6 separate regions of the Homo sapiens genome follow, and regions 2, 3, 4, 5 and 6 are each linked to region 1. Evidence: promoter capture Hi-C in 16 types of primary human blood cells and fetal thymus (Javierre and others, 2016). All regions are on one chromosome and are shown on one strand. Each heading gives the region's core, a stretch centred on a gene start or on the middle of the fragment in contact. The rest is flanking DNA. Distances are from core to core; before and after follow the strand shown.

Region 1 (4,927 bases), core at 1,650-4,149:
CCAACAGCCTGATGTGTTGAGCCAAAGCACTCCCGCCCCGTTTTCTCTTCTTACGAAAGAGGAAGTGAGATTAACTTTACCATTTAGGAAAGTACAGAGGAGCCCCCAGAGTGCCACCCTCTACCAAACGGTGAGAGGTTCACTGGGGGGCCCCGCTGCTCCCCAGAGCCTGAACTGCAACTTGGCTTGGCCTCCTCCAGGCCAGAGAGAAGAAATGAATGGGAGTTTATCTGAGGTCGGCCTGGGGGGTGACTCAGAGGTCTCAAGGCCTACCTGGGGCCAAGCAGGCATCCTGCGGGTTCAGCGTCAGGCCCTGCTGACACAAAATCAGGTGCCAGGTGTCCCCAGGCCTCAGTCCCTTGCCCTTCTCCCAGCCTCAGAATCTCCCTCAGTGCAGTTGTTTTAGGAAACAGGCCTCACATTGGGTCCAAAAACATAGGTTGGTGACTTCACTGGGATCTTTTTAGAATTTCCCTTTGGCAGCATTTGTGCTAAAAGCAATCTTTAGAAACTTCTTCTCTTGCCTCCCCCACCCAGGATAATTCACATGATTGGCCCCACCCCCCCAAAACAGTGATCATGTGAAGACACAGGAATCATGTGACACCTCCCAGGCTGACAGTTCTGCCTGAGACACTAGTAGTCATTCAATCCAAAGCCGCCTTCCTAAACCTGACATTTTAGTTTCTCACTCGAACAAATCCATTTTCTTAGAAAATTGGACAACTGCCTCCTTGTACCTTCCTACCCTCATATCCTGTCTCTCTACTTCTTTGTTGTAAATTCCATGTCTGGAGCAATAGGGGGAGGGGCCTGAGGCCCCATCCTTCAGCCAAACCAGGTGACTTCCCTGCCCAGGCCCATGGTGTGACCAGGACCCCGAAGAACAGATACTGAAGGATAATGGGAGACTTGAGCTATGATGGTCGCACCTCATCCCTTCCCCACCACCCTCGACCAAGAAATTCATTCTTACCTCCTAAGATTTATTTATTTCAAAGCTAATCTTGGCCCCTCTGCTGCTCCCACTTTTTCAGGCTATTGATGCTGAATGGATTGGAACGGAAGTTTTATGGCCCAATCTTTACCATCTTATAGACTGTTTTTATAGGCAAAAGGGGGAGATGTGCTCACAAGAAAGGTGTTGGTGTTCCCAGCCGGTGCCCCAGGAAAGGCAGGCTGCCCATCGGAGCACTTGCTAATCAGCGTCACTGCTCGTTTGCCAGGGACTGAACCACAGCCTCCTGGTCGGAGAAGGGTCTGGAATAGACATTTAGAAATTAACTCGGGCCCAATTCCCTGCTTCAGGAAAATTAAGCACTTGTGAGTGACACTTGTGCATTTCCAGGCCAGGAAGGATGGCAGGGCAGGAACTCGGACTTTTGCAGGGTACAAATGGCCAGCTCAGGCAGGAAGGAGCAGATAGGAGATGCCACTCACTGGAGAGACGTGAACTGTATCAGTGCTCCCTTCAGCCCAGCAAGGACGCAACTATAACTGAAAAGAACTGGGGGTGGAGGGTGGGGTGGGGTGGGGGGATGCCTATGTGAATTCCTGGGTTTCAGGGGAAACTGCAGGGCAGAGAGAAGCAGCTGTCTACCCCCCATACTTCTCCTTCCACCCACTCTTTGCTAGTTCTCCCTTTCTCCCTGCTATCAGATGGTTACCATCTCTAGTCAAACGCAAAAGGGGGTGTTGGACACTGAGCTCATCTTTACCTCCCTCCTCAAGGGTGGGAGGTACAGAGAGACCCCACTGCCTACAACACAGTTTCAAGACGACAAAAAACAAGATCCCCATTTTTCTCTCCCTCCCAACTCCCTTAATGCCATTTCTCTGCTCCCCCCGCCCCCCACCCGGTGCCCTCCCAGGAGACCCATGGTTTTGCAAAACCCATTTAAGAAGCAAGACTCCTGAATGGTGACCTCACCCTTTGGTGAACATGCACAGTAGCCTTCAGAGCCCGCCTGCCGGCGACAGCCAGGTGTTTGATGTAGGCCAACAGAAAGACATGGTCAGAGCCACAGGTAACATCCCCGCGGAGCACCTGAACTGCAGGGAGCTGCCTGGAAGCTCGGGGAAGGCAGGAGGAAGGGGGAGCTGGGAGCGCCTCAAGGAGCAAGACCACCAGGGAGAGGCTTTGGCAACCACAGGGACAATCCACCGTGTTTTTACATAAGGATCTGTTGCTCGCAGCAGCTCGCTCTGGGGTTACCGCGGCCTCCCGGCTCCCTCTCTCCCAGGCACACACTAACACCGGTTTACTCTGCGCACCAGAGGGAGGGCTCACTCTTCCCTAATTGCAACAGCTTGTCTCTGTTCCATTCCAGGCAGCATCGGGAGGACCTCTGCCCTCACCTCCTCCCCTCACACCCTGAAGTCAAACATGTGGAAAGTCGTATGTCCATGGGGACAGATTCTGGGGAAGCCGGACGGCCCTGCTCTGAAAGCCACTGTCAGTCAGCCTTCCCCATTGGACCGGGCAGGGGCTGAGTGAAGCAACTCGGCTCTTTTGTCTCAGTGCCCAGCACAGTGCACAGAGTCAGAGTCCACAGAGACAAACTCTCATAGAAGAGACTTGGGTTCTACCCTTGGCTGTGTGACCTTGGGCATGTCGCTGGCCCTCTCTGGGCCTCAGTTTCTGCATCTATAACCCTGGTTACAGGCGTCTCTCCCCCTATTACTGCTCGGCATTAGCCGAAGGGGTCCCAGTGCCAGTCTGAGAGGCCTGAGCCCGCAGTTTGGGGAGTGCAGCGGTGGGGAGCGGGGGGGTGCTTACCTGACCAGGCGCAGGACGCGGCGAGCAGCAGGCAGAGCAGCGGCCCGAGGCGGCCGGGGGCCGGGCCGGCGGGCTCCATGGGCCGCGGCTGCGGAGCGAGGAGGGAGAGCGGCCGTGAGTGCGCGCTCGGGCGGGAGCAGGCTGGAGCGGGGAAATGACTAAGGCTCCCCCCCTTCCCCCCTCCCGGCTGGGCCTCCCCCCGACTCCGGAACGGGCGCCTGGAGCGGCCGCCGCCGCCGCCGCGGTTTTTGGAGACCCCCCCTCCCCGCCCCCCAGGAGAAATGGAGAGACGGAGACTGGGAGAGACCCCAAGCGCGCGAGAAATAAAGCCAGGGGCGGCCAGAGAGAGGCGGCAGGAGAGAGAAACAGACCCAAGGGAGCCAGGCAGAGAGCCAGAGACACGGAGAGGCGAGAGGGGGAGAAAGAGGGGGAGAGCGAGGAGCGAGGAGCGAGGCGGCGCGCAGACCGACAGACCGCGCGGGAGAGAGGACCGCGCGAGCAGGGGCGAGGGGCAGCACGGCCGAGCCCGGCCGCGCGGAGCCGCCCCCGCCGCTGCCCACCTGCCCCGCCCGGGCTCCACACGGCGCGGGCGGCTGGGCTCGCTCCCGGCCCGCAGTCCCGGCCGCTGCCCCCGCCCTCCCGGCAGCCCGACCCCCTCCCTCCTTCCCTTTCCCCTCCTCCCGTCTTCCCGCCGCCCGGGGAGGCTTCGGGGCTCCGGCCCCGCCGGCACCTTCTCTGCGAGCGAGCGCCCGCCTGCGCGCCCCGGGGGAGGGAGCGAGGGCTGCGAGCTGCGCGCCCGGCCGGGGAGGGCAGCGTCCTCCCCCGCGCCGGCGCCCGGGCCCCGGCTGCTGTCCCGGGAAGGCGGCCCCGCGAGCCGCCGCGGCCCGCTGGGGCTCGGGACTAGACGAGCCTCCGGCTCCGACAGCGTGCCCGTTCAGAAGCCCGCGCGGCTGGTCCCCAGCCCCGACCGGTCCCGCTCTGCCCCTCCCCGTCCCTGCCGGGCCCGGACCTGCGCCGCCCGCGAGGGCTGGAAGGCACTGGAAGCGCCGCCGGGGCTGCCCAGAGGCCGGGTCCCCGCTCCACTTTGCGCAAACTTGTTTTTCTAAGGTCAGCGCTGCGAGCTGGCTACATCGTCCTCTTAAGGTGGACCGGGGAAGTTGCGGCCGACCTCCCCTCGCCTCCGGACTCCGGCCGCGCGGCTGCTCCCCGCTTCCCACTGGCGAGAGGCTGGAGGCGGCGAAGGAGTCGGGGCGCGGGGGCGCGGGGGGCGGGGGGGCGTCTGCCTTTTAACCCTCCCCAGGAGGTCGTGCCTCTGAGCCCCAAAGCTGAAGGCCCCTCTTGGGGGTGGGTGCGGGCCGGAGGGGCCCGATCCTTTCAGAGCCGGGCCGAGGTGAAGGAAAAGAAGGAAGTAAGTGAACGCAGGGGGAAGGGGAGAGGAAGAAGAGATGATGGTACAAAAATAGCGTGTGTGTAGGAAGGACTTCGGTGCCGCCTGGAAAAGAGGCGCGGGGAGGAGAGGGAGCGAGAAGGGGGCTGTGGCGCGCAACCAGAGGGGAAGGGTCGGGGCCTTCCCAGGGAGGTGGAGGCCCCCTGGCCAGGTGTCTCGGTGGTGGAGGGCGGACTGGGCGGGTGGGAGGCCCAGGCCGGGGCGTGTGTGGGAGAGCGGGGCCCTGAAGGCCTGGGTTCCGGGAGAAGGACAAGCCCTGAGGAAGATGAGGGGAAGGGGAGCCGGGGCCAGAGGCCTGGAGTTGGAGAGGACAGAACCCCGGTTTTCCCGGAGGGAACGCCGTTCCTGTAGTAGCCAGGTCAGTGATGGGGAGTGCCAGTGTCGTGGTCACCTGGCAGAAGGCTCCGCACTGTGGGAGGAACACAAGTTCAAGACCCCGCTGCTAATGGGAGAGAATTTTGGTTCACACAGTGGCGGTTAAGAGGACAGGAATGACACAAGGTGAGAGAAGGCCCAACCCTGTAAATGGACAGAAAGTTGAGGCCCGGAGAGGGAATAGGTTTGCTTAAGGCCACACAGCAAAGCTTGGGGTAGAAACAAGATTTGAATTCCTGATTCCCAGGTTAAAGACCTGTGCAAAGTAACACCACTGCCTCCCCTCCTGCCCCGAGCCTCCTGGTGAAGGCATGGCCCTGCTGTTG
Region 2 (4,927 bases), core at 714-3,213, 430 kb after region 1:
CGAGCTTTTATGAGGACGGAGGGGATGAAGACATTGTGACCATTTCGCAGGCAACCCCCAGTTCAGTGTCCAGAGGCACAGCCCCCAGGTAAGGGCCAGCTTCAATTATCGCTACATGAGTGTTTCCAGCAGTGAAGAGGAGCTATTTTCTGACCAGAGCGTTCAGGCCTGGGTGTGTGGACCAGGTCTGAATGAGAAGGTTAGACTGAGTCAATGGGTAGTACTTCCCAGCAGGCCTCAGTCATTTCCTATACAGAGATGCATGACTTTTAACTGGGTGTGGTTTATGGTTCAATCCTGGGGGAAACCACAAACCTACTTTTAAGACTTTTACTTATGTAGTATGAGGAATGACCACTGCAACTCTAAAGTTTTTAAGTAAAAGCCAAAAAACTTCCTTTCAAGGGTGCTATAGATGTGAAAGTTTAGGCGAAATGACTTAGGAAAGCTGTTTTGATATTTTAGGATGCCCGTTACCTTATTAAGAAGTCTTGTACAAAATAAACCTGTGTAACCCACCCTTTGCCAAGTTGATTAGGGAGACCTTGTCTTACTAGGTAAAACAGTGTTAACCTTTGCAATCCCATTTGCATCCCCTGTCGCTGCCTCCCACAGCACCCACAGCAGATTACTCCTGTGCTCTGCAGAGTGAGACAATGCTGGTCTTCCAGGAGACAGGCAGGGGTGCTTCCTGTAAAGGTGTCTGAACCTTTACAGAGAGTGTGTAAGCAGAGGTGTCTCCCCTCTCTGCTTTCGCCTTATTGCTTCTACTCTCTAGTGTATGTTTTAGCCAGGAAATTTTATTTGGGTTTGAATTCAACCCCAGAATATAACCAACAGTGTTTCTTTGCCATGAAGTGGTAAATTATGTTTCTCTCTAAAGGCAACTGAGGTTTAAAATATATTTCCTCCCTTCGAAGAAGGAGCACTAACCCCAGATCTCATTGCTTTCTTCTTTCCCTAACTCCCATCCAGAGAAAAGAGGTAGGAGGAAAGTGATCTTGTAACTGTTTGCACGTGCTAACCTATGAGATGTTGGTGATGGCACATCTGGGTATTACTGCTTGGGACATGTTGTTAGGGTAAGTGCTGTTCTTGCAGCTGCTAGTAGAGATGGCTGATTTTCTGGGGTATGAGTCTTTGACAGCCACCTTAGGGTGTTGTTGGGATGTTGGCATGTCAGAATTATAGAGGGGGAGAGATTTAAACTTAGTCTCTAATGCCAGTTACATGTTTACTCCTTTCTTTTCTCCAGTAATCCCAAAGTTCTATTAAGGCAGTGGTTTATTAGCATGGGCCCAGGAGCCTGACTGCGTTGGTTCAAATCCCAGCTCTGCCACTTAAGTAAAAGCTTTGTGACCTTGGGCAGGTTACTTAACGTTTCAGTTCCTCATTTTCCTCGCCTGTCAAATGGTAATGATAGTGCCTACCACATGGGAGACTGAATGAGTTAATACTTACAAAGCAAATAGAACACAGCATGTGTTGTTATTATAATTTTAGTATTATCATTTTTAGCATTCATTCTCAATTGACCTGTTTTGTTTACTCTATTCCCCAACAAGTATGTACATTTAAGAATAGGCATAAAAGTGGCCAGGCGCGGTGGCTCACACCTGTAATCCCAGCACTTTGGGAGGCCGAGACTGGTGGATCACGAGGTCAGGAGATTGAGACCATCCTGGCTAACATGGTGAAACCCCGTCTCTACTAAAAATACAAAAAAAATTAGCCAGGTGTGGTGGCAGGAGCCTGTCATCCCAGCTACCCGGGAGGCTGAGGCAGGAGAATGGCGTGAACCCGGGGGGCGGAGCTTGCAGTGAGTCGAGATTGCGCCACTGCACTCCAGCCTGGGCGACAGAGCAAGACTCTGTCTCAAAAAAAAAAAAGGCATAAAAGTAAAAGAATCAAGGACATAGAGTTTAACATTAGAACTGAAGTGAGTAAAAAGACTGGACGCACATTTGGTCCAAGAGGCATTGCTTTATTGCTCTGGTTAAGGCTCAGACTTGGTAGTAGGCTTAGAAAAGAACTGAAGACAAGAAAAAGGGAGGGAGGAGGGCGCAGTGTGTTGCATGGTTTGTCCTTGTTGAGGAGGAAAGCAAATGCTAGGACTACATTCTCAGGAAAAACCAAACTTGTGCTAGCACCTCAGAGGAATTCTGTGTGGGGCCTGCCTCTGCTTTGACCTGGCAGTTGCAGGACACTTAGCCAGCTGCTGCCCTCTCCCATCCCCCACTTTTGACTTCTCACATACCCTTTTATGTTGTCACTGCTGCCTCAGAGCAACACCCAACTCTAGAATAAGGATTCTTAATATGGAGCCCGAGAACCCTAGGAGGAATCTATGAAATGAGCGTGAGAAGGTCTCTATTAATACCTGAAATTACAGGCAAAAGTTTGTGTACATGTTAGCAGGTATCTTTTGTGGCAAGAGAGTCCATGGCTTTTATGAGATTCTCAAAGGGCTGACAGACATAAAAATGTTAACCATTGCTATAGGAGACAGTTTAAACTCAGTAATAACAGCTGCCATTTATTGAGTATTTACGAGTGAGGCACTGAGTTAAGCTTTTACATGAACATCTTTTTAGTCCTCACAGCAACCCTGTGAGGTTAGTACTGTTGTTAGTACTGTTAGCACTGAGGTTAGTACTATTCCTATTTTACAGATGAGGACACTGAAGTTGGGTATCTTTCCAAGATCACAGAGCTAGTAAAACAAGGATTTAAGTGTAGGGCTGTTTTCTACATTCAGCATTTCAGCTCTCAGCCCCAACAATGTTCTGCCTCTTCTTGTGGACATTCAAAGTCCTCCAGAGTTTACCCTTGGACCCACCTTCCTAATCTGATTCCCTTTTCCTCATTTCTTAAATCCTTTGTTCCAACCAAACTGATTTCTTTGGTGCTCTAATTCTTCCTTATTTTTGGTTCTCCTGCTTTTGTTTGAGCCTCTCACCTGATCAGGTGTGCCCGCTCTCTTGCTTTCTGCCTATACAAATCCCATGCATCCTTCCATGTTTACCTCCATCCCCACTCTGCTGAGCGTGTTATTGCTAACCCTGTGACCAGGCTGCACGCCATAATTCTGTTCCACAGAACTCCAGTCACAACTATCACTCCTTCAGTTCTTTGACTATATCCATGTACTACTGGGTGGCATCTCTCCCACATTGCCCTGAACTCTTTTCCTGATATTTAACTTAATTTTTCTCCCCAAGTAAATTGTAAATTCCTGGAAGTGGGACGGCTAGTATTTCAGGAGCAGTCACCAAAGCTCTGCCATGTTTCTCACCTGTGTTCTCTTCTGATACTGTTCAACAGCTTTGAAATAGGTAAGGTGCTTACCATTTCGCTGGTCAGGATGCTAATTCTTAGAAAGGTCAAGTAACTTACAGCTGCTGTTACCACAGATTCAAGGCGAAGTCTGCCTAAGTCCAAAGCTGCTTCTGCTGCCACATGCTACCTCCCTGCCAGCACCTCCCACCCCTGTATGCAGGGTCAAGCAAGAGGTAACAGTTTCTTCCTTTTTTCCCCTCTTTCATCCAGCAAAAGTTGTACTTTAAACTTCCGGGAACTACGATTGTCTGATTCTCTAAAATTACACGATCCAACAAGGTAGCTACTAGCTATTTAAATTAATTGAAATTAAACAAACATTGTTACTCGTTTTCTCTAACCACATTTCAGATGCTTAATAGCCAAATGTGGCTAGTGGCTTCTCTGTTGGACAGTGCAGATAGAGCATTTCCATCATCACAGAGAGGCAGAGCTAGGGTAACCGGATTAAAAGCAGAAAATGTCATCTGATGAAGGAGTTTTGTGCCACTTCAGTATGCCAGAGTAGCCTGGGAGATAGTTCTAATATTGAAAAATTGAACTTTCTGAGATATTTAGCCAATTTGTAGAGACCATAGGACAAAAGTATTGTGCAATTGCTAATATCCCTAGGACATCCATGCCATAAGGTAACTGAAAGCATTACTCCAGACAGTGGTTCTGAACTTGAATATATGTCGGAATTACCTCAGGGGCTCCTTAAGGCTAGATTGCTGGATACCCCTTCCAGAGGCTCTGATTCAGGAGAATTAAGAGGGGGCCTGGGGATTTGCATTTCTGACAGGTTCACTGTAATGCTGATGCTCCTGGTCCATGACCACACTTTGAGAACTGCTACTCAAGAGTAGTACTTAAATGTGCCACACCATGCAAAAGACTTTCCGTGCATCAGTACCCCACCTGCACACAGAAAGCCCATAGGTTGGTGCTGTGATTGTCTTATTTACATGTGAGAAAATGAAGGCTTTGAGAATTTAAATAGCATGTCCAAGATCCCAAGGGTAGGAGGCAGAATTGGGATTGGAATCTGGTACATGGATACCAGAATCAATGTCGGATACCATCAGAGTCTGGGTGTATGAGTTTTGGGGGAAAGAAACAAAGCCATAGCAGAGCAAGTGATTTGCCCAAGCAAGTGTACACACATATATTTGAAAGTTTAACAACAGGGAGATAGAAAATATTTTTTTCATAGATGCTCATCCTAGCCTAGTCATTGGAAGAAACTTTAGGCTGAGCATGTATGGAAAATTCCCTTTGGGAAGATGAATGAGTGGAACTAGTACTCTCAGGGTACTAGTACAGATCTCATCACTTGGATCCTTTTGAACCATGTCATATCAAGCATCAAGGAATGCCCGGCAGACTGTTCTCAGGAGCCAACTCATGCAGGGAGCTTGTTTGCTACATTGATTGGTTTTTGTCTTCTCACTTCTAGTTGATGGATCCTCAAAACTCTTCTGTCCCCTGATTGTCTCCTTGAAATAAATCTTCAAGACTGAACTGGAGCTTTCTTCCTAGTAAACAGCTCATTAAAGCCTCACTAAACCTGTATTACTCTCTGTTAGTCTTTTCTCACACTGCTATA
Region 3 (4,927 bases), core at 717-3,216, 410 kb after region 1:
GCTCATTTATTAGGTCTAGTAGCCTTTTTAAGAAATTTTCATTTAAATTTTAATTATGTCATATGCACATAAAGACAGTTTTCTTTTTTCTTTCAAATCTGGATGTCTTTTATTTCCTACTACCTTTTTCACAGTTAGTACCTATCCTACAAAATTGAATAGAAATAGTAAAAACAGGCATCTTTGTCTAGTTCCTGATCTGCAGGGAAAACATTGATTTTTGCACCACTAAGCTTGATAGAGTTGTTGTAGGGTTTTCACAGGTGCCCCTTATCAACTTGAAAAACCTTCCTTGTCTTCCCAGTTTGCTGAGAGTTATTATTAGGAATGCATGTTCAAGTTTGAAAACTGCTTTTTCTGCATTCTGTTGAGATGATTATATGAGTGCATGTATATGCGTGTGTGTGTGTGTTAGTTTAGTAATATGGTAAATTACATTGATTGATTTTTGAATGTTAAACCAACTTTATATTCCAGGGATAAGCTCAATTTGATTATAATGTATTATACTTTCTAAATATTGCTGATTGCTGAATTCGGTTTACTAAAATTTTGTGTAAAATTTTTTATCTATGTTCATGAGAGATATTGATTTTCCTTTCTCGAAAGGAAAAGGCTTCGGTTTCAAGATAACACTGGGACTCATAGAATAATTAGAAAAGTATGCTCCTTTTTTCAATTTTCTAAAAGTATTTGTATAAAATTGGTATTATCTCTTTCTTAAAGATATGGAAAATTTGGCTGGGCATGGTGACTCATGCCTGCAATCCCAGCAGTTTTGGAGGCTGAGGCAGGCGAATCACTTGAGGCCAGGAGTTCAAGACCAGCCTGGCTAACATGGCGAAACCCTGCCTCTACCAAAAATATAAAAATTAGCCGGGCATGGTGGTGCATGCCTGTAATCTCAGCTACTCAGGAGGCTGAGGCAGGAGAATCGCTTGAACCTGGGAGGCAGAGGTTGGAGTGAGCTGAGATCACGCCACCATATTCCAGCCTGGGTGACAGAGTGAGGCCCTGTCTCAAAAAAAAAAAAAAGAAAAGAAAAGAAAAGAAAAAGATATGGAAAATTCACAAATGAAACTTTCTTGGATTGGACCTTTATTTCTGGGAAGATTTTTAATAACAGATTGAACTTTTTAATAGATAATAGGGCTAACCAGGTTGTCTTTTTCTTCTTGAGAAAGCTTTGGCAGTGTATCTTTTTCAAGGAATTTGTTCATGTTACCTAATTTGTCAAATATGTATGACTTGAAGTTTTCCATAATATTCTTTTATTATTCTATTAATAAGAGTAAAATCTGTAGTAGTATCACCAATCTTATTCCTTATTTTAATAATTTAGGTTCTTTCTGTGTGTGTCCCCTCTGTTCAATCTGACTAGAGATTTATCAGTTTTAGTGATCTTCTCAAAGATTTTCTTCTTCTCATTGATTTTTTCTGTGTGTGTGTGTGTGTGTGGTGTGTGTGTGTGTGTGTGTGTTCTACTGTATTAAGTTTCATTTCCAGCTTGATGATTTCCTTTCTTTCACTACTTTGAGTTTAGTTTATTGGCCTTTTTTTCTAGTTTCTTAAGGTGGAAAGTGGGTAATTTATTTGAGTCCTTTCTTCTTTCCAAATATAGGCATTTAATACTACAAACTTCCCCTTGCTTTAACAGAATCCCGCAAATTTTTATATTATGTTTTCATTTTCCTTCAGTTCAAAATATTTTCCAATTTTTCTTTTTTAATCGATACATAACATTTGTACATATTTATGGGGTTCATGTAATACTTTGTTCCATGCATAGGATGTGTAATAAATGAGTCAAAGTATTTAGGATATCCATCACCTCATGTATTTTTCATTTATCTGTGTTAGGAACATTTTAAGTCCTCTCTTCAAGCTATTTTGAAATCTACAATACATTGTTGTTAACTACAGTTACCATACTCTGATATCAAATGGCAGGATCTTATTCCTTCTATCTAACTGTATGTTTGTACCCATTAACAAATCTCTCTCATGCCCCTCTCCCTACACTCACTTTTCCCCACGTCTGGTATCATTCTACCCTCTGCTTTCATGAGATCAATTTTTTTAGCTTCCACGTATGAGTGAAAACATGTGATGTTTGTCTTTCTGTGCCTGGCTTATTTCACTTAACATAATGAACTCCATCTTCATTCATGTTGCTACGAATGACAGAATTTCATTTGTTTTTATAGCCAAATAGTATTCCATACTGGCCATCCAGTAGTGGTATTGCTGGGTGATATGGCATTTCTATTTTTAGTTTGTTGAGAAGTCTCCATACTGTTTTTCATAGTGGCTGTACTAATTTACATTCCCACCAACCATGTATAAAGTTTCCTTTTCTTTGCAACCTTACCAGCATATATTTGTGGTGGTTTGTTTATTTATTTTGTTTTTTTTTTTTATTGTTGCCTTTTTAACAGTCGTTCCAACTGGGGTAAGATGATATCTCATTGTGGTTTTGATTTGCATTTCCCCGATGATTAGTAATGTTGAGCATTTTTTCATGTGCCTGTTGGCCATTTGTATGTCTTCTTTTGAGAGATGTTGATTCATGTCCTTTGCCCACTTTTTAATGAGATTTTTTTTAACTGTTGAGTTGTTTGAGTTTCCTGTATATTTTGGATATTAGATTAGTCCCCTGTCAGGTGAGTACTTTGCAAATATTTTCTCTCATTCAAGAGTTTGTCTCTTCACTGTGTTGATAGTTGCTTTTGTTATGAAGAAGCTTTTTAGTTTAATATAGTCCCATTTGTCTATTTTTGTCTTAGTTGCCTGACCCTTTTGAGGTCTTAGTCATAAAATCTTTACCTATACCAGTGTCCTGGAGTCCCTTCCCTGTTTTCTCCTAGTAGTTTTTATAGTTTTAGGTCCTACAGTTAGATCTTTAATTCATCTTTAGTTGATTTTGGTATATGGTGAGAAATAGCAGTCTACCTTTATTCTTCTGCATATGGATATCCAGTTTTTCCAGCACCATTTATTGAATGTGTATTCTTGATACCTTTGCCAAAAATCAATTGGCTGTAAATACATGGATTTATTTCTGTGTTTTCTATTCTGTGCCATTGGTCTATTATACCATTGGTCTATGTATTCTATGCCCTTGGTCTATTATACCAATACACATCCCAATCAAGAAGAAATTTACAAAATCCCAGAAAAAGAACACAAAATATCGATACTAAGGAAGATCAGTAAGATACAAGATAATTCTGAAAAACAATACAAAGAAATCAGAAAACACTCCAAGACATTGCTCTAGGCAAAGGTTTTGTGGCTAAGACTTCGAAAGACAGGCAACAAAGGCAAAAAAAAGACAAATGGGACTATATTAAACTAAAAAGCTTCTGCACTGCAGAAAAATAATCAAAAGAGTGAAGAGACAACCTCCTGAATGAGAGATAATATTCACAAAGTACCCATTTGACAAGGGACTAATATCTGGAATATACAAGGAACTCAAACAATTCAACAGTTAAAAAAGCAAACAAACAAATAAATAATCTAATTAAAAATGAGCAAAGGAAAGGAATGAATAAACATTTCCCAAAGAAGACATACAAATGGCCTAGAGGTATATGAAAAAATATGCTCAACATCACTCATCAGGGAAATGCAAATCAAAACCATAATGAGATATCGTCTTATCCCAGTTAGAATGGCTATTGTTAAAAAGACCCAAAAAAAGGCCAGGTGCTGTGGCTCGTGCCTGTAATCCCAGCACTATGGGAGGCTGAGGTGGGCAGATCACCTGAGGTCAGGGGTTCGAGACCAGCCTGACCAACATGGTGAAATTCTGTCCCTACTAAAAATACAAACATTAGCCAAGTGTAGTGTCATGTGCCTGTAATCCCAGCTACTCAGGAGCCTGAGGCAGGAGAATCACTTGACCCCAGGAGGCGGAGGTTGCAGTGAGCTGAGATGGTGCCACTGCACTCGAGCCTGGGTGACAGAGCAAGACTCCCTCTCAAAAAAAAAAAAAAAATGATGAGGATGAGGAGAAAAGGGAACTCTTATACACTATTGGTGGGAATGTAAATTAGTACAGCCACTATGGAAAACAGTATGGAGATTTCTCAAAAATCTAAAAATAGAACTGCCATATGATCCAGCAATCCTAGAACAGGTATTTATCTACAGGAAAAGAAATCAATATATCAAAGGAGTGCATGCATTTCTACGTTTATTGCAGCAATATTCACAATTGCAAATGTATGGAATCAATCTAAGCGTCAATCAATGGATGAATTGATAAAAAAAATACATATATATAGTGTCCCCAAGCACACCCACAATGGAATACTATTCAACCGTGAAAAAAAAATAATGAAATCATGTAGTCATTCACAGCAACACGGATGGAACTGGAGATTATTATGTTAAGTGAAGTAAGCTGTACTCAGGAGGCTGAGGTGGGAGAACTGCTTGAACCTGGGAGGCGGAGGTTGCAGTGAGCCGAGATAGTGCCATTGCACTCCAAAAAGAAGGAAAGAAGGAAGGGAGGGAGGGAGGGAGGGAAGGAGAAAGAGAGAGAGGAAGGAAGGAAGGAAGGAAGAAAGGAAGAAAGAAAGGAAGGAAGGAGGGAAGGAAGGAAGGAGTGAGCCAGACACAGAAAGACAACTATGCAGGTGCTAAAAATGATCTCACGGAAGTAGAAACTATAATGATAGATACCAAAGACTAGGAAAGGTGATGGGTCTCAGGGAGAGGGGTTAAGAGTGAGGTTGGTGAATGGGTACAAACACACAGTTAGATAAAAGGAACAAATTTTAATGTTTGATAGCAGAGTAGGGTGACTATAATTCACAACAATGTATTGTTTTTCAGAACAGCTAGGAAAGAGGACCTGCAATGTACCCAACACATAGAAATAATAAATACTCAGGTGATGGATACCAGAAAAAAAAGA
Region 4 (4,927 bases), core at 1,539-4,038, 380 kb after region 1:
GCTTTTCTTCCGTTGTAAATATCTTATAACTGTCGGTCGTAACCAGCAAGGAATGTGCCTTGTTAGTTCCAAGACAGAGTTGAACTTAAAGTAGCATTAGTCTGGCTCTCCTAGGCTCCTGCTTCCCCAACATTTCCACATAGGCTAGTAATAGCTTGGTGGCTGTGTCCCAAGGGTGTGTCCCAAGAAAGAGCTAGGTAGAAGCCATACCAACTTTCATTACCCAGCCACAGAAGTCACACAGTGTTGTCCCTGCTACATTCTATTCATCAAAGCAGTTACAAAGTCCAGGGGAGCAGAAATAGACTCCTCCTCTAATGCGGAGTAGCAAAGTTCTGGAAGAGTATGTGGCTGCCATAATTTTTGGAAAATGCAATCTGCCACATAGAGTTAACTCTTAATTCGTCTTTCATATTTGAATTTCATATTTGAATCTTTCAAATTCAAAGATTTCCACACAAAGGTTACTTCCTCTGGAGACCCTTTCCTAACCTGCCCTCCTGCAGACCAGGTCAATTGTCCCTATTGTAGGCTCTTGGAACTCCTGTAGGAGTCATGTGACTGCTTTGTTTCCTTCCCGTCCTCCTCACCAGAGCGGGAGCTCCATAAGGCAAGGAACATGCCTGTCTTGGTCAATGCTGTATTCCAAGAACCCTGCACACTGCCTAGGAAGGTGTAGACACCCCTTGAGCACGCTTTGCATAAAGGAAGAAACTAACGAAGGCAGTGCTATTGTTTCAGTTGTGCCCACAGTGAATATCTCAGCACACCATGTCCCAGGACTCCAGACTGCCATTCTCACCTGCCATATACAAAGGTTTCACCCCAAAGTCACACAAATTGCCTGGCTAAAGAGAAATGGATACTTCAAGACCTGTGAGGCACTTGGCCCCACCAAGAACCCAGATGGCACATTCACCCAAGACAATCATATCCTGGTCAACACTTCAGAGTGAAAGGATAAAAAACAGTTCACCTGCCAAGTGTGGCAGAATAACCAGGCTCTGGTCCAGGCCAGTAGGCAGCTGAGCAGGCCCAAAGAAGAGCAAGCGAGTCTGGGAGAGTAGGACCGGAATAACCAAGCAGGTAAGGGCTCAGACCTAGAGACAGACAGGCCAGGTTCAAATGCAGGCTTTGCTGTTCTCACCATGTGTGACCTTGGAAAAGTCACTTCACCTCTTTCTGAATTATCTATAAAATGGAACAGCAATTATGGCAACCTCTTTAGAGCATTACGTCTCCAGTACCAAATTGCAGTAAGTGCTGCTTTCATCAGCTGAATCCTGACCACCCACTCATTTTACCAGATACTCCTTTGAATAACTAAGCTAATCTGAAATATCTTTCCCCAGTTCCCACCCATCCTCCAAAAGCCATTCAGATTTAACAATTACTGAGCACCTATTAGGTACTTTGGGTGCTCCCATTTGATACAAAAACATTCTGAAATGCGTGTTATAATCCCCACTTTACAGATGAAGGAAACTGAGGCTTATATAGGTGAGGTGACTCTCCCCAAGACCAGGGTATAGTCTTGGGACCTGAGTCAGGGGTGGGGCTGAGCCTGCTTGGGGGTCTAGTGGAAACAGGATCTAGCCTCATCCTGACATTGTTCTGTCACCAGGTACCCCTGTGTGCAACTCCTTCCTGCTCCTTTGCTGGAACTTTCTGCCATCTGTGTCCTTAGGAGGAGCCTTTCTTCCAGGTAAGGGGGGACCCTAGATGGGATTAGGCTCCCAAGGGTGGGACTCCAGCTGACAGGGGCACTGTGAGAAGAAGGCTGTGGAGCCCTCCCATTTCTCCTGTACCTTGAATGGGTGTTGATCCATAGGGTCCCCGAGAGTTGCACCGCTATCCCCTTGACCTTCCTCTGTCTCTCATTCAGCCTGAGGATGTACAAAGAGGCAGGTTCCCTGGTCAGGGCAGGAGAGGGGGCACTTAAGGAGGAAGAAACAGAGAGAGCTGGTATGAAGACAGCACCCTTGAGGTAGACTCTAAGGAGAGGTGTGAGAAAATCATGGGCTGTGCCTCAGCCCCTGCTTCCTCTACAGGTCATAGACCCCGCAAAGGCAGTCCTCCACAGTGACATAGGACCCTCAGTCCCTCCTGTCTTATTTAGGAGGACTGGACTTAGAGGAGGACCTGCCATGATGTCTGTAGCTGCTCCCTCAGCTTCTCTTGCCTCATCAGCCTTCTGAGACCTGAACAGCACTGGCCATCCCTCCCTGTCTCCTGCAGCCACCAGAGGAAGGGAGCACCTAGACTGGAAAGGTCAACAGTGAGAGGGAGATTCTCATGCCTTACCCAGGAATGAATTTTCTGTGGCAAGTCTGACCTCAGAGTCCATGATACTGACCAGGAAACCCAGCAGAGGCAGGATAGGCTCCAACCCTGAGGAAAATAGATGCCTGCATTTCTGATGGCTCCTTCCTGGCTCATCAAGGAAAGCCCATTGCTCTGCCATGAAACCCAAGCTCTGCCATGAAACCTCTACAGCCCCATCATTAAAACTGAGTTAAATGAAACACTTATGGCCAATAAACATATGAAGAAATGGCCAACCTCATTAGTAATCAGGAAAAGCCACGGCAAAACCACACTGAGATGTCATTTTGTCCCTGTTCAAATAGCAAAAGTAAAGAAGCCACTGGATCTTTTTTGCATTGCTAGTGGGCACATAAATGGACACAGCTGTTTTGGGAAACAGATTGGAAAATTTTGTTGTGTTAAACACTCACATACCCTATAACCTGGCACTTCCACTCTCAGGTTACACTCAAAAGAAACTTGCACATGTGCACCAGGAGATATGTACAAATATGTACATGGAGACATTGTTTAAAATTAGCAAAACCTGAGAACAATCCAAATGCCCATCTGCAGTACAATGTGTGATAAACTTAGTACACTCACAGAATGGGATATTCTATAGAAAGCAAAATTAATTAACTACAGCCGCACACAGTAACATGGATAAATTTTAGTAATACAATATTGATGGGGGTAAGTAAGTCCCAGAGATTTCATGAAAAATGATGGTCTTTTAATAAAGCTGAAAACAGCTAACATTAGTTTTTAGGAATACATAGAAATACAATGAAACCCATTTTTTAAAAGGAACAATGAACACAAGATTAAAAATAGCAGTGACCTTGGATGTAGGAGGGCAGAAGGATGAGAATTTGGGGTACATAAAGATAGGTGGAAATTATCGTGAAGGTTCTAGCTTTCATGATGGATGGTGGCTTCACAAATGTTTATATTAAGATTTTTTTTAAATGGACAGATTAACAATATAAAATTGATATAGGTATGCAGGTAAATAGATAGATGCATGGTTGATTGGAAGGGAGAGAGGGAGTGAGGGAAGATAGATGGATGGATGGATGAATGGATGGACAGATGGACGGATGGATGGATGGGTAGACAGATGGGTGAACAAATGACCAAAGGGCAGCTATATAGATGAAGGGGTAGGTAAACAAATTAATAAAAAGGGTCATGCATTGTCAATAATTATAGTATCATGCAACATGAATTATGATAGGTACAATTCTGTGTACTTAAGATTCAAAGGAAAAAAATAAATGGAGGGACATTATCTAGAGAACCCCAAGTTCCCTTCCTATTGTGACATTCTACAGTTCCATATAAGGAAGAAAAACAGTTACTGGGTGCCACCATGGGCCTGGGACTTCATGTGTGGTTTTATCTCATTTCATCCTCATACCAGTCTTACAAGGTGGGCACCATGCTCCATTTTGCAGATGAGGGGACCTGCCCAATGTCACTTAGATAACAAGTGGTAGAACCAAGAAATCCAGATTCAAACCCAACTCTTGTCACTGCTTTCCAAGGAGCCACATTGCCCAGCATTCTAGACACAGATGGGTGATCTTCACCCATCCTCAATCTATTGCTTCCTGGCCTGTCAGGCCAACGGTTCTACAGTAAAGCCAACCTGATGCCTATGGGTGGTGAGGGAAAGGGAAGAACACATGTGTGCCCTTTCCCAGGTTTGAAATGTGTCCCTGGAGTAGATCGAGGGTTCATTATAAGCACCAAAATGGCCCTGTGAAGACTTTGGAAGATGACGTAGTCCAGAAAAGCCTTTTACAGAAAAGGCTTTTTGTAAAAGGGTAAGTATGCCCAGAGGAGATAAACATCCTGCTCTATTTTTATTATGTAGTTTTACTGTGACTTTGAACCTTTATAGTCACAGAAACAGAGATATTCTCCCTCAGATATGCATCTCCTTTTCAAAATTTTCTACTCACAATAGAGGTGCTTCAGCTTCAATATTCCCATTCCTGGGCTCCAATGTTGAGGACCTTGAGGATGTCTTGGCCTTCTTCAATGATGAGGGTATCATGAAACAAGAATTATAATTTACCTCCCCCTTGAAGCAGAGCCAGGACTAGGATGAGGCAAAGTTCCTAGGAAACAAAAAGTAAGACACTCATTCTGAGGCCTGAGCAAGCGCAGTGTCAGCATGTATAACACCTTGTGATATGGTTTGGCTGTATCCCCACCCAAATCTCATCTTGAATTGTAGTTGCCATAATCCCCATGTATCATGGGAGGGACCTGGTGGGAAGTGATTGAATTGAATCATGGTGGTAGTTACCTTCATGCTATTTTCATGATAGTGAGTGAGTTCTCACGAGACCTGATGATTTTATAAGGGGTTTCCCCCACCTTCACTCTGCACTTCTCCTTGCTGCTGTCATGTGAAGAAGGACATGTTTGCTTTCTCTTCTGCCTTGACTGTAAGTTTCCTGAGGCCTTCCCAGCCATGCTGAACTGTAAGTCAATTAAACCTCTTTCCTTATAAATTACAGTCTCGGGTTGTCTTTATTAGCAGCATAAGAATGGACTAATACATCTTGTCTCTACATTTTGTGCCCTAGGTGCCCTAAGTTTCCAA
Region 5 (4,927 bases), core at 1,531-4,030, 360 kb after region 1:
CCTGGGCTCCTGGATGAGGAAGGGTCACCAGCACACCTGACACAAAGTGAGGGGCCCAAAGGACACAGCCTAGGCACTAAGGGTGTCTGCCAGGGCCCCTCCAAGCACCTTGGGACCCTTATATCAGTAACTTATTAGCTTGTGTCTGATTCCTATTTCACAATCTAGAAACTGGAACGGTCATAATCCTACAGCCCTTTCCTCCCATCATAGTAACTTCCTCTTATATCATGGAACACATAGTTTTGCCTCTCTCAGCAGAGCAGAATCCAAGACCTCCCAAGAACAGACCTGCAGGCAGAGCAGGCTCCAGGGCCCACCATGATGCCCATACCTGCCTCTCGGCCCTGCCTGAGAGAAACAGCACAAACTATTTCGTCCAACCCTGCTGCTGCCTCCGGCTGCTGGGACTCACAGGTGAGTGCCCCCACCCTCAGGTACCATGATGCAGGGATGCTCTCCTGAGTTTGGCGGCGGTACCATTTCGCCACCTGCAGTGGGGCGGATGAATCTCTGTTGTCCTAGGGCCTCTTTCTTTGCCACCCCTTCCTCTTTAAGACACTTCCCTAAATAGTTTGTTTTATAACTAGTGTCTCCAAAACAAATCCTTCCAGAATTCTTCTTGCTTGGAGGGGTTGCTTTCTCTCCCATCCAGGCGTTTCCCCATGACAGGGGTGCCCAGTCCCTCTCACTTCCCACACCCCTGATGTCCTGTGAAGGTTCCACGACCCCCTAGGCCTGACCTGCAGGACCTGATGCCATCCTGAGAGAAGAAGTAGAGGAGCAGCATTTGACCCCTTGGTCCCCAGGAGGGAGACAGGGATGCTGTCATTAAGATGAGTACACATGGATGCATAGGTGATTAATAGATAGATTAGATAGATAGATAGGTAGATAGATAACAACAAGTACTACACATGCAATGTAGAACTATTAGAAAAAATTGCTAAATGGTCCTTTTTAGACTAGTAAGTCTCCCAGAATCTCAGAAACCTAGGATTACGTTCTTGATGCGGGTGTTTCTCCTGCCTGTCTACTCTCTTCTCTCCAAAGATGATCTGCACAGTCAGGAGAGGCAACCATTCTTCTCCCAGTGGTGTTAACATCTCAATTTAGAGTCCAACTAATAAAGTGGTTAAAAGCACAGGCATTAAAAAAAAAAAAAAAAACGACAGGCCGGGGTTCAAATGCAAGTTTCATCATTTGTAGGCTGTTTGACTATGGATAAGTTACTCAACTTCTCTGTGCCTCTGTTTTCTTGTCTGTGAAATCGGGATAAATAATAATGCCTTTCCAATACAGTTGTGGTGAGAATCAAACTAGTTAATTAATATAGTTAAGTTTTTGGAGTAATGTGTAGCACACAGAACCACCTATGTGAGCTCTGGTTGTTACAGCCTTTTAGGGCTTAATAAGTGCAAATATGAGCCCACGAAAATAGTCCTGCTGCATCCGGCCATTGCAACTCTCACTCTGTGTCTTTGGCAAGTCTATGTCTTCACTTAGAACTCACAGAAGTCATGGGAACTGAGAAAGGTCCATCAGGCTTGGTAGAAGAAGGAACTGAAAGCCAAGCAATGGTGTGCGCTTCCTAGAATCACCAGGTTGTCAGGGCTGGAGCCTGGCCTACTGGACTTGCAGTTAAGAATGGAAAGCCCATTTCACAGAAGTCCTTCTATGAGCACAGTCCTGAGTGTTTCTCAAAGATTTTCAGGTTTCAGTATCACAACAAAATTGCAAGAGGAAGTTTTACTTTCCACATTGTATACATTACATAGATAAGAAAACAGAGCCTCAGGGAGGTTATTTTCGCAAAGTAAAACACCAATGTCAGTCCTTTTTCTGTTGCTTAGAATAGAATACATGAAACTGGATTATTTATAAAGAAAAAGAACCTATTTCTTATAGTTGTAAAGGCTGAGATGTTCAAGGTCAAGGGGCCATATTTGGTGAGAGCTTTCTTGCTGGTGGGGACTCTCTAAAGAGTCCTGAGGCAGCACAGGGTATCACATGGTGAGGGGACTGAGCATGCTAGCATACTATACTTGGGTCTCTCTCTCTCTTCTTATAAAACCAACAGTTCCCCTCCCATGATAACCCATTAATCCACTAATTTGTGAAATAACGCAGAGTCCTTATGACCCAATCACCTCTTAAAGACCCTACCTCTCAATACTGCACATTGAGGATTGAATTTCAACATGAATTTTGGAGGGGACAAATATTTAAACTATAGCAATCAAGCAATAGAGGAGGCATTGAAACCTGGGTCAATGGGACTCCACTAGCTCTTACTTTGACCTCTTCACTGTGCTGCTTCTAGATACATCGAACTTTTAACAAAAATAAGATTACACAAAATATGGTGGTTTATTTGTTCTTTTACTCAATGATAAATTGGGGACCCTTTTCTATGTAAATATATATGTGTCTGCAACATCATCAATACATCCCCAATATATACATCAACACTATCATTTCAATCTCTACATAGTTTTCCATTTTGTGGTTGTACCATCATTTATCTAACTCACTCCTATTCTTGGACATGGGCCATGCATCAAACTTTTCTATATTGTAAATACTATGATTACCATTCCTTTACAAATCATATTCACCCTTGTCTGATTGTTTCTTTTGAATAAGGCCGTCAAAGAGGAATTACTAAATCAAAGGGTATGAGTTTTATTGGGAAATTGCATTTCAAAAGTGTTTTTTGGTTTCAAAAGCCATTTCCCAATGAAACGTGAGTGTCTCAATATCAGTAATATATTATCTCACCACACCCAGCACAGAAGCAGCAGCAATGGACAGGGGGTATTTTGAACATTTGGGACCAAAACAGATTTGGTTAAAGTATCTCCACTTTACTTGTTTAAATATGGGTTTGTCACGTGGACATAGATCATAAGATCATGACTGTGATGCTGTATTGCCATCTAGAGAGATCGTGTCCATTGTTATTCCCACCAGCAGTATGTGGGAGCGCCTGCCTCACCACAACCTTAGCAACACAGAAAATTGGCAATCTTTTTCATGTTTGCTAAGCTAATATTCTAAAAATTGTGTCTGCTCTTAGCTTGCAGGAGGGAGAAATGTTTTATTTTATTTTATTTTTATTGTATTTCAGGCTTGCTGTCAAAATAATCCAAACAGGGAAGGAACGTACAAGTAAATAACAAAAGCCCCCATACTCTTCTGACTCCCTGGAGACAGCTACTTTTTAGGAGTTTCATTTGCCTTCTTCAAGAGAGCTTTCTTCCACTGACATAAAATGCCAGCTTGATCGTACAATAAATCTGTCTATTTACCTGGGTCCAATTCCAGGTTCTCTCTTCTGTTTCATCGACCTCTCTGCTTGCCTTGGTACCAACCTGCCTCTACTATTTATTGCAGCCTGAAAATGTGCTCTAACTTTCATATGCTGAAACCTGCGTACATTTTTTTTAAAAACTTTTCCAGCTAGTCTGTCATGGACGTTAGCAATTTGTGTGTGGTTTAACTATGCACTTCACTGGATTACTGGTGTTGTTGAACATCTTTTCTAGAAGTATTTCTTCTCTTTTGACTTCCTGACTGTGTCCTTAGCAAGGGCTGTCTGTCTATCTTGTCTCTATGTCTCTCTTGATACCCAGTTAAGGAATGTGCCCATCCTAAAAGCTAATACATGATATGGAAAGAAAGAATGAATGGGGCTTCAAATGCAATCTGAACCCAGGCACCTGGACCGCAGCCTCATCCCCAGCTGGAGCTTGGAGCTGACGTGTGTTCTTCCAGGAGTGGCGGGTGAGGAGGAGCTGCGGGTAATTCAGCCTGAGAAGTCCGTGTCAGTCGCAGCTGGAGAAGCGGCCACTCTACACTGCACTGTGACCTCCCTGATCCCCGTAGGGCCCATCCAGTGGTTCAGAGGAGCTGGACCAGGCCGGGAATTAATCTACAGTCAAAAAGAAGGCAACTTCCCCTGGATAAGAACTGTTTCAGACATCACAAATAGAAAGAGCACAAACTATTCCATCTGTATCAGAAGCATCACACCAGCAGAGCCGGCACCTACTACTGTGTGAAATTCCAGAAAGGAAGCCTACATGAAGATTAAGTCTGGACAAGGCACCCAGATGTTTGTGCATGGTGGAGTACAGATCCCTAGAAATCCAGCGCATTGTTCTAAAACAAATTACAATCCCTGGGAGCCTAGCCTAAGGCTCCCCCTTTGTTAGCCCTTGTGCCAAGATTATGAATAGAAGATGGGGATAGTGAGAGGTCACAGTGAAGGAACAGGGTGAAATGTAACCCCAGCGCCATCTATCAGTAGACTCCTAACTCTTTAGAATCTTACAGCTTCCAAAGGCCCACAAAGCACAGTGGGTAAAAGTAGACTACAGCGCCAGATGGCCTGGGATCAACTTCTTGCTCTGCCATTTACATGCTATGTGACATTAATTCTATTTTTTTTTTTTACAAGGTCTCTCTGTGTTGCCCAGGCTGGAGTGCAGTGGCGTGATCCCAGCTCACTGCAACCTCTGCCTCCCAGGTTCACGTGATTCTCGTGCCACAGCCTCTTGAGTAGCTGGGATTATAGGCATGTACCATCATGCCCGGCTAATTTTTTTGGATTTTTTTTAGTAGAGACCTGATTACGCCACGTTGGCCAGCCTGGTCTCGAACTCCTGACCTCAAGTGATCCTCCCACCTCGGCCTCCCAAAGGGCTGGGATTACAGGCATGAGCCACCATGCCCAGCCTATGTGACCTTAATTCTTAATTAAGATTCTTAATTCAAAATGTTAAATTCTCTGTGCCTCAATTCCCTTGTGTTTAAGGTAGGGATAACAATAGTATCCACTTCACAGATTTGTTATAAGAATTATAAATGTGAATGGGCTTATAAATGGAAAACACTTAGAAGAGTGCCTGCTGTATAATAATTA
Region 6 (4,927 bases), core at 1,196-3,695, 280 kb after region 1:
GATTAATACATCCACCTATTTGTTTTTTAAACAATTTAGCACTAATTATATTTTTTCAAAATTCTTCTTTTTATTACTTTTCTCAGATACCTGTTGTTACTGCACACCTACCTATTCTTGTTTCACACGTGACTTTGTTTTATGGATTTACTTTCTTTTCATTATCTCTATAAGGTTACTAAATATGTTAATGTTAAAAATATTTTCACATTTTATATTTTTATTTTCTGAGGTATTATTTTCTAAGATGTTATTTTCATTGCTGTTTTTGTTTTTTAGTTATTGTTTTTGAATTTATTATGATGTCGCTTTTCCCCAAATCTTTAGTGATTACTGCTTTCACTGTAATCTTTACAGGAATAATGCCCTGAGTGATCATGGGCTGTCAGCACTTTATGGAACATGGCACCTATCCCAACCTTGCTGTGGAGGCTGCGCCTAATTGACGTTATGGCTTCTTCTCTGCTTCCTTCCTGAGAGATATCTCTCCCTTCTTATGAGAGGTGTCATAGTGAAGGCCATGGAGTGTGACAACCTGTGTTCTAGTTCTAAAAGCTGGGTGATGTTGAACAAATGTATTATTGCCTGCGTGCCTCAAGTTTCCTCACCTATAAAAAAAGGTTAATGGTAGTGCTAATTTCATGGGACCAGAGTGATGAATTAATGAGGTAACTGACAAAATGCTTGGCACAGTACCTGGAGCACAGGACATCTGCAGTAAACACAGCAGCTACTACCCTTCATGTCATATAGAGACTAGTTTCTTGTTTTAAAGTGTAATTTGGCATCGATTAACATGATTTTATCATTTTTATATTCATTTCTGTGAGTGTGGAGCAGGAGGTGATGATTTCACCCTCTGTGCATCTGCCACATTGAAAAAGAAATTTGCATGGAAATGTGATGACTTTTACAATTTCATTTGACAATTACTCATGATAGGTGAAGGATTGCAAGCCCAGCATGGGAAAGAGAGGTTTCCAGACAGGTCTTTCTTAGTCACAGATGATGGAGGAGAAACCATTTCTCCTACCAAGGAAATTTTTCTAAAGCACAAGTATGTCAGGGAAGCAGTGAACTCACCCTGTACACAAATGTAATTATAGCCACAATTTTTTGGTTATAATTAAATATGAATCAAACCTTCTGTATGGCTTATATTACTCTTACCATATCACTACAAGGTGCATGTTATAACTTCCATTTACATGTAATTAAGTTAAGGCTTAGAGAAGTCAAGTGTCTTGTTGAAAGTCACACAGCTGGAGATTGTAAGAAAAGGAATTCATCTACAGATTGACAAAAAGCAGGGTGAAGAGGATCCAGAGGGAGAAATTGATCTCAGAGTGTCAGAGGTAGACCAAGTACACCATAAAAGCTGGGTTCCAGAAGTCCGGGGAACATGGGAGAAGGCCACTGGTGGGAAACTCAGCATGCAGTAGAAATCCATTTAAAAGCAATATTTGAGTTCCCTCTCTTCACCTGGCACCATGAGTATCAATAATAACCTACTGAATCTCAGGGATGTATAGTCATTATCTCTTTTGATGTTCACTAAAACATGGCAGTGAGACTTATTATCCCAAGGTTAGAAGGCAAAACTGAACCTAGGCAGGCCCAGTAACTTCCCCAACTCCTTAGCACATCTTCTTAGGGTATTTATTCTCCCTCCCTCCTCAGTTCCCATCTGAAGACAGTGATGAATGGAATAGGTGTTCTATGTGCAGAGCAAAGAGTATTGAAATCGATGTGACTGCTCCAGGAATCTGCCCTCCATATTCTCCCCCATAATAAACATATCCCCTTTCCATAACCCATAATCCCCACCTCACCTCACAAAGCAGATCCTTATTACCCTAAGCCCACTTCCTCTCCTGGAAGAAGTCAGGAAATAATTCCTTCTGCTGGGTGCAGGCATATGAAAGTGCTAACGGCCACATGAGACTGAATTTGGGCTAAGTTTTGCCATTTATATTTATAAAAGTTCGGAATAGGGAACCATTTCAAGAGCAGACCTGTTCCTCTCCAACACTGAGCAGGTCCAGTGATCCCTCATCCTGCCCCAACTGAGTAGCACTTGGTTGAGGCTGTTGTAGAATGAGACCACAAGCCAACCACATCCTGAGGTCTTGAGATGGAAAGTTTAGGAAACATTTCATAACCACAGGTCCTTCCTGGCTTAAGAGCACCAAATGGCAAATCACCAAGAAGACATAAAGATGGGGTTAGGAGTCATGGAAGGAGTTAAGACCTCAGGTGGGAAGGAAGCATTATTTCTGCTAAGCCTGTCTGATTCTCCTGAAATGGGGCATGCATAACTGCTTGCATTGTAGCTGCTTGCTGTTCCTGATTTCTGTTTCACAATCCAGAAGCAGGTTACTGCTTCACTCCATCGCAGCCACTTCCTCTTGAACTAAGGGAGGCAGGGCTTGTCTTCTCTCCTCAGAGCAGAGTCTGCGATCTTCCCAGCACAGACGTTTGGACAGAGCAGGCTCCTAAGGTCTCCAGAATGCCCGTGCCAGCCTCCTGGCCCCACCTTCCTAGTCCTTTCCTGCTGATGACGCTACTGCTGGGGAGACTCACAGGTGAGCACTGCCTTCGGTTAAAATCTTTTTTCCTGCCCACTGAGCCATGGCCTGTCCCTGGACTTTCAGGGATTCCGGACAATGACAAGTGCTGCCAAGAAAGGCCAAGGATTAGGCTTTGACTGAGAGCAGAAAATCAGGGAGCTGAGCACTTTCTCTGTGGATCTGCAGCTGGCTACCAGAGGCATTGAACCACAGGACGATTCAACCACCACAACAACAATTACTTACATTTTGATAATATTTCAATTGAAAAAGCAGAGAAGAATCATTATCTAAATCCTCACCAGTCCTGAGGCCCTAGGGCCAAGTGACATGCCCAAGTCCACAGAGTAAGCTCAGAGACACCCTAACAGGGTTATGTGGCTCTAGGCCCAGCCCTCTCTCTTCACCAAACTGAGGATGTGAAGTCTGTAATAGTGCTCACTTGAGTAGGGCAGTGGTGTGGTGTATCCTGGGAGTGTTCAGCCACCATCCTCCCTAAGGGTGCTCCTCACTTTGTCCTCTGTTCCCCCATGCTCCTCCCTCCCCTGTGACCTGATTCTTACCACCCATTTCTCTGTGGCCTCTTCCTCTTTAAGAAGTTCCACATTTGCTGCTTACTGGGTCCTATATTCCTTTCCTAGGGCTTCCATAACAAAGAACTGCAGGCTGGGTGGCTGAAACTACAGATATTTACTTCCTTGCAGTTAAGGAGGCTGAAGTCCAAGATCAAGGTGTCAGCAGGGTTAGTTTCTACTGAAGTCTCTCTCCTTGGCTTATACAGGGCCATTTTCTCTCTGTGTCTTAAACACATGATCTTCCTCTGTGTGTGTCTGTGTCCTCATCTCCTCTTCTTATGAGAATATCAGTCTTGTTGTATTAAGGCCCACCCCAATGACCTCATTTAACTAAATTACTTCTTAAAGACCCTGTCTCCCAAACTGTAACGTTCAGAGGTGCTGGGGATTAGAGCTTCAACACATGCATTTTGTGGGACACATTCAGCCCATAACAGGTACTACAACCTCCTTTGGTTCTCTTAAATTTCCCATGGATAATTTCTTTCCCCTTCCCAAGACAGGCAGGATTGGAGGGCCTTTCCTGGTGCAGCCTGGGAGAACCCTGCTCACAGCTCCCAGACAAGTTACCTGTCCTGATCCCTTCTCAGGCCATGGAGCTGACCCCAGAACCACAGGGCTGGGCACAGCAGCCTCTCAATTCCCCACTGGGCCCTGCTGTGATGTCACCTCACAGGCCCTAGAGGGCAGGGGTCTCACTTTTCAAATTATTTTTCTCACACATACACTGTACCCAAATGACAGCAGTAAGAGTTTAACAATTGAGCTCTTCCTACCATGTAGACACAGTTATTAGCATTTTGCCTGTTTTAGCTCCACTAATCCTCACAACATCCCTGTGTGAAAGCTGCAACTATTATCCCCTATTTCCAAACAAAGACTCAGGCAGAGGGAGGAACTTGTCCATTCATTGTCCCCTACCTCAGTCAGTGGAGCAGCTGAGATTCAAGTCCAGGTCGACCGGCTCCAAAGTTCATTCTTTTAGTCGTGTTATGCTACTAGCAGAAATATTAGAAAATGCAGGGAAGTAAACATAGAATTAATTATTGCCTACCACACTTGTTAGCAACAACCAGAGTTACAACTGTGATGTATGTACTTCTAAATTTGTTATTAATGTGTTGGATGCTTTCTATGGGCCACATATTTTACTTTCTATGGGCCAGATATTTTAATGAGATTTTAACGTGTGTTGTAATTTTATTTAATACACAAAACAAACTTATATACTATCACAATAGGTCACACTTTGATATATATTTGTGAATGTATATGTGTGTGTCTATATATACATATATATGTGTGTGTGTGTATATATACATATATGTGTGTGTATATATATTTGCAAATGTGTGTATACATATGTGTGTATACATATGTATATGCATGTATGCATATAAGTAAGTGTACATGCACACACAGGAGATTTCATTTTTTATCATTGTTTCTCCAAGTTTCTAATTTCAATGAAACTTTTAACAAAATATTTTATTTTTATTTGACAGAACTGTATATACTTATCATGTATACCATATTAATGAAATATGTGTACATTGCAGAATGCCTAATTTGAGCTAATTAACATATGACCTACCTTGTATATGTATCATTTCTGTGGTGAGATCTCTCAAAATCTGCTTTCAACAATTTTTGAGGTTACGAATTGTGTTATGAACTCTAGACCCCATATTGTACAATAGATTTGTGGAACTAATTTCTCCTAACTAAACTGAAATTTTGTATCCTTTGACCAATATCTCTCCAAATGCACCCCCTGCCTAG

Evidence for each region. The method cuts DNA at HindIII sites, captures the fragments that hold promoters and counts their contacts. A CHiCAGO score of 5 or more calls a contact.
Region 2: a contact is called between a fragment that was not itself captured here and the fragment with the promoter of SIRPA in region 1, in 1 of 17 cell types (neutrophils). The highest score is 5.2, in neutrophils.
Region 3: a fragment that was not itself captured here is called in contact with the fragment with the promoter of SIRPA in region 1 in 1 of 17 cell types (monocytes); the score reaches 7.3 in monocytes.
Region 4: a fragment that was not itself captured here is called in contact with the fragment with the promoter of SIRPA in region 1 in 1 of 17 cell types (monocytes); the score reaches 5.2 in monocytes.
Region 5: a contact is called between a fragment that was not itself captured here and the fragment with the promoter of SIRPA in region 1, in 2 of 17 cell types (monocytes and neutrophils). The highest score is 6.8, in monocytes.
Region 6: the fragment with the promoter of SIRPB1 here is called in contact with the fragment with the promoter of SIRPA in region 1 in 5 of 17 cell types (neutrophils, monocytes, M0 macrophages and 2 more); the score reaches 17.1 in neutrophils.

Annotation. Positions count from the first base shown.
Region 1 is chr20:1,893,379-1,898,305 of GRCh38, reverse strand. It overlaps SIRPA (signal regulatory protein alpha), which reads right to left and starts at 2,899. Exons shown (of 8, transcript NM_001040023.2): 1 at 2,780-2,899. The coding sequence starts at 2,858. It overlaps LOC102724545 (a long non-coding RNA gene), which reads left to right and starts at 4,056. Exons shown (of 4, transcript NR_186374.1): 1 at 4,056-4,187. RefSeq lists an enhancer at 1,739-2,254 and silencers at 3,546-3,665, 3,676-3,935. The HindIII fragment of the contact is 10,599 bases long and covers 1-4,812 here.
Region 2 is chr20:1,459,490-1,464,416 of GRCh38, reverse strand. It overlaps NSFL1C (NSFL1 cofactor), which reads left to right. Exons shown (of 9, transcript NM_016143.5): 2 at 1-88. Among named protein-coding and RNA genes, the nearest start is that of NSFL1C, 4.9 kb to the left of the region's middle. The HindIII fragment of the contact is 1,220 bases long and covers 1,354-2,573 here.
Region 3 is chr20:1,482,185-1,487,111 of GRCh38, reverse strand. The region is part of intron 1 of SIRPB2 (signal regulatory protein beta 2); the gene reads left to right. Among named protein-coding and RNA genes, the nearest start is that of SIRPB2, 6.8 kb to the left of the region's middle. The HindIII fragment of the contact is 1,559 bases long and covers 1,187-2,745 here.
Region 4 is chr20:1,512,860-1,517,786 of GRCh38, reverse strand. It overlaps LOC105372499 (a long non-coding RNA gene), which reads right to left. Exons shown (of 4, transcript XR_001754464.2): 2 at 4,278-4,436. It overlaps LOC105372498 (a long non-coding RNA gene), which reads left to right. Exons shown (of 3, transcript XR_937198.3): 2 at 1,625-1,705; 3 at 2,120-2,200. Among named protein-coding and RNA genes, the nearest start is that of SIRPB2, 24 kb to the right of the region's middle. The HindIII fragment of the contact is 9,029 bases long and covers 1-4,927 here.
Region 5 is chr20:1,532,645-1,537,571 of GRCh38, reverse strand. It overlaps SIRPD (signal regulatory protein delta), which reads left to right. Exons shown (of 4, transcript NM_178460.3): 3 at 262-417; 4 at 3,131-3,321. The coding sequence ends at 3,147. The region is part of intron 2 of LOC105372499 (a long non-coding RNA gene); the gene reads right to left. Among named protein-coding and RNA genes, the nearest start is that of SIRPD, 23 kb to the left of the region's middle. The HindIII fragment of the contact is 7,989 bases long and covers 1-4,927 here.
Region 6 is chr20:1,617,527-1,622,453 of GRCh38, reverse strand. SIRPB1 (signal regulatory protein beta 1) reads left to right here and starts at 2,445. Exons shown (of 6, transcript NM_006065.5): 1 at 2,445-2,585. The coding sequence starts at 2,510. The HindIII fragment of the contact is 7,240 bases long and covers 1-4,927 here.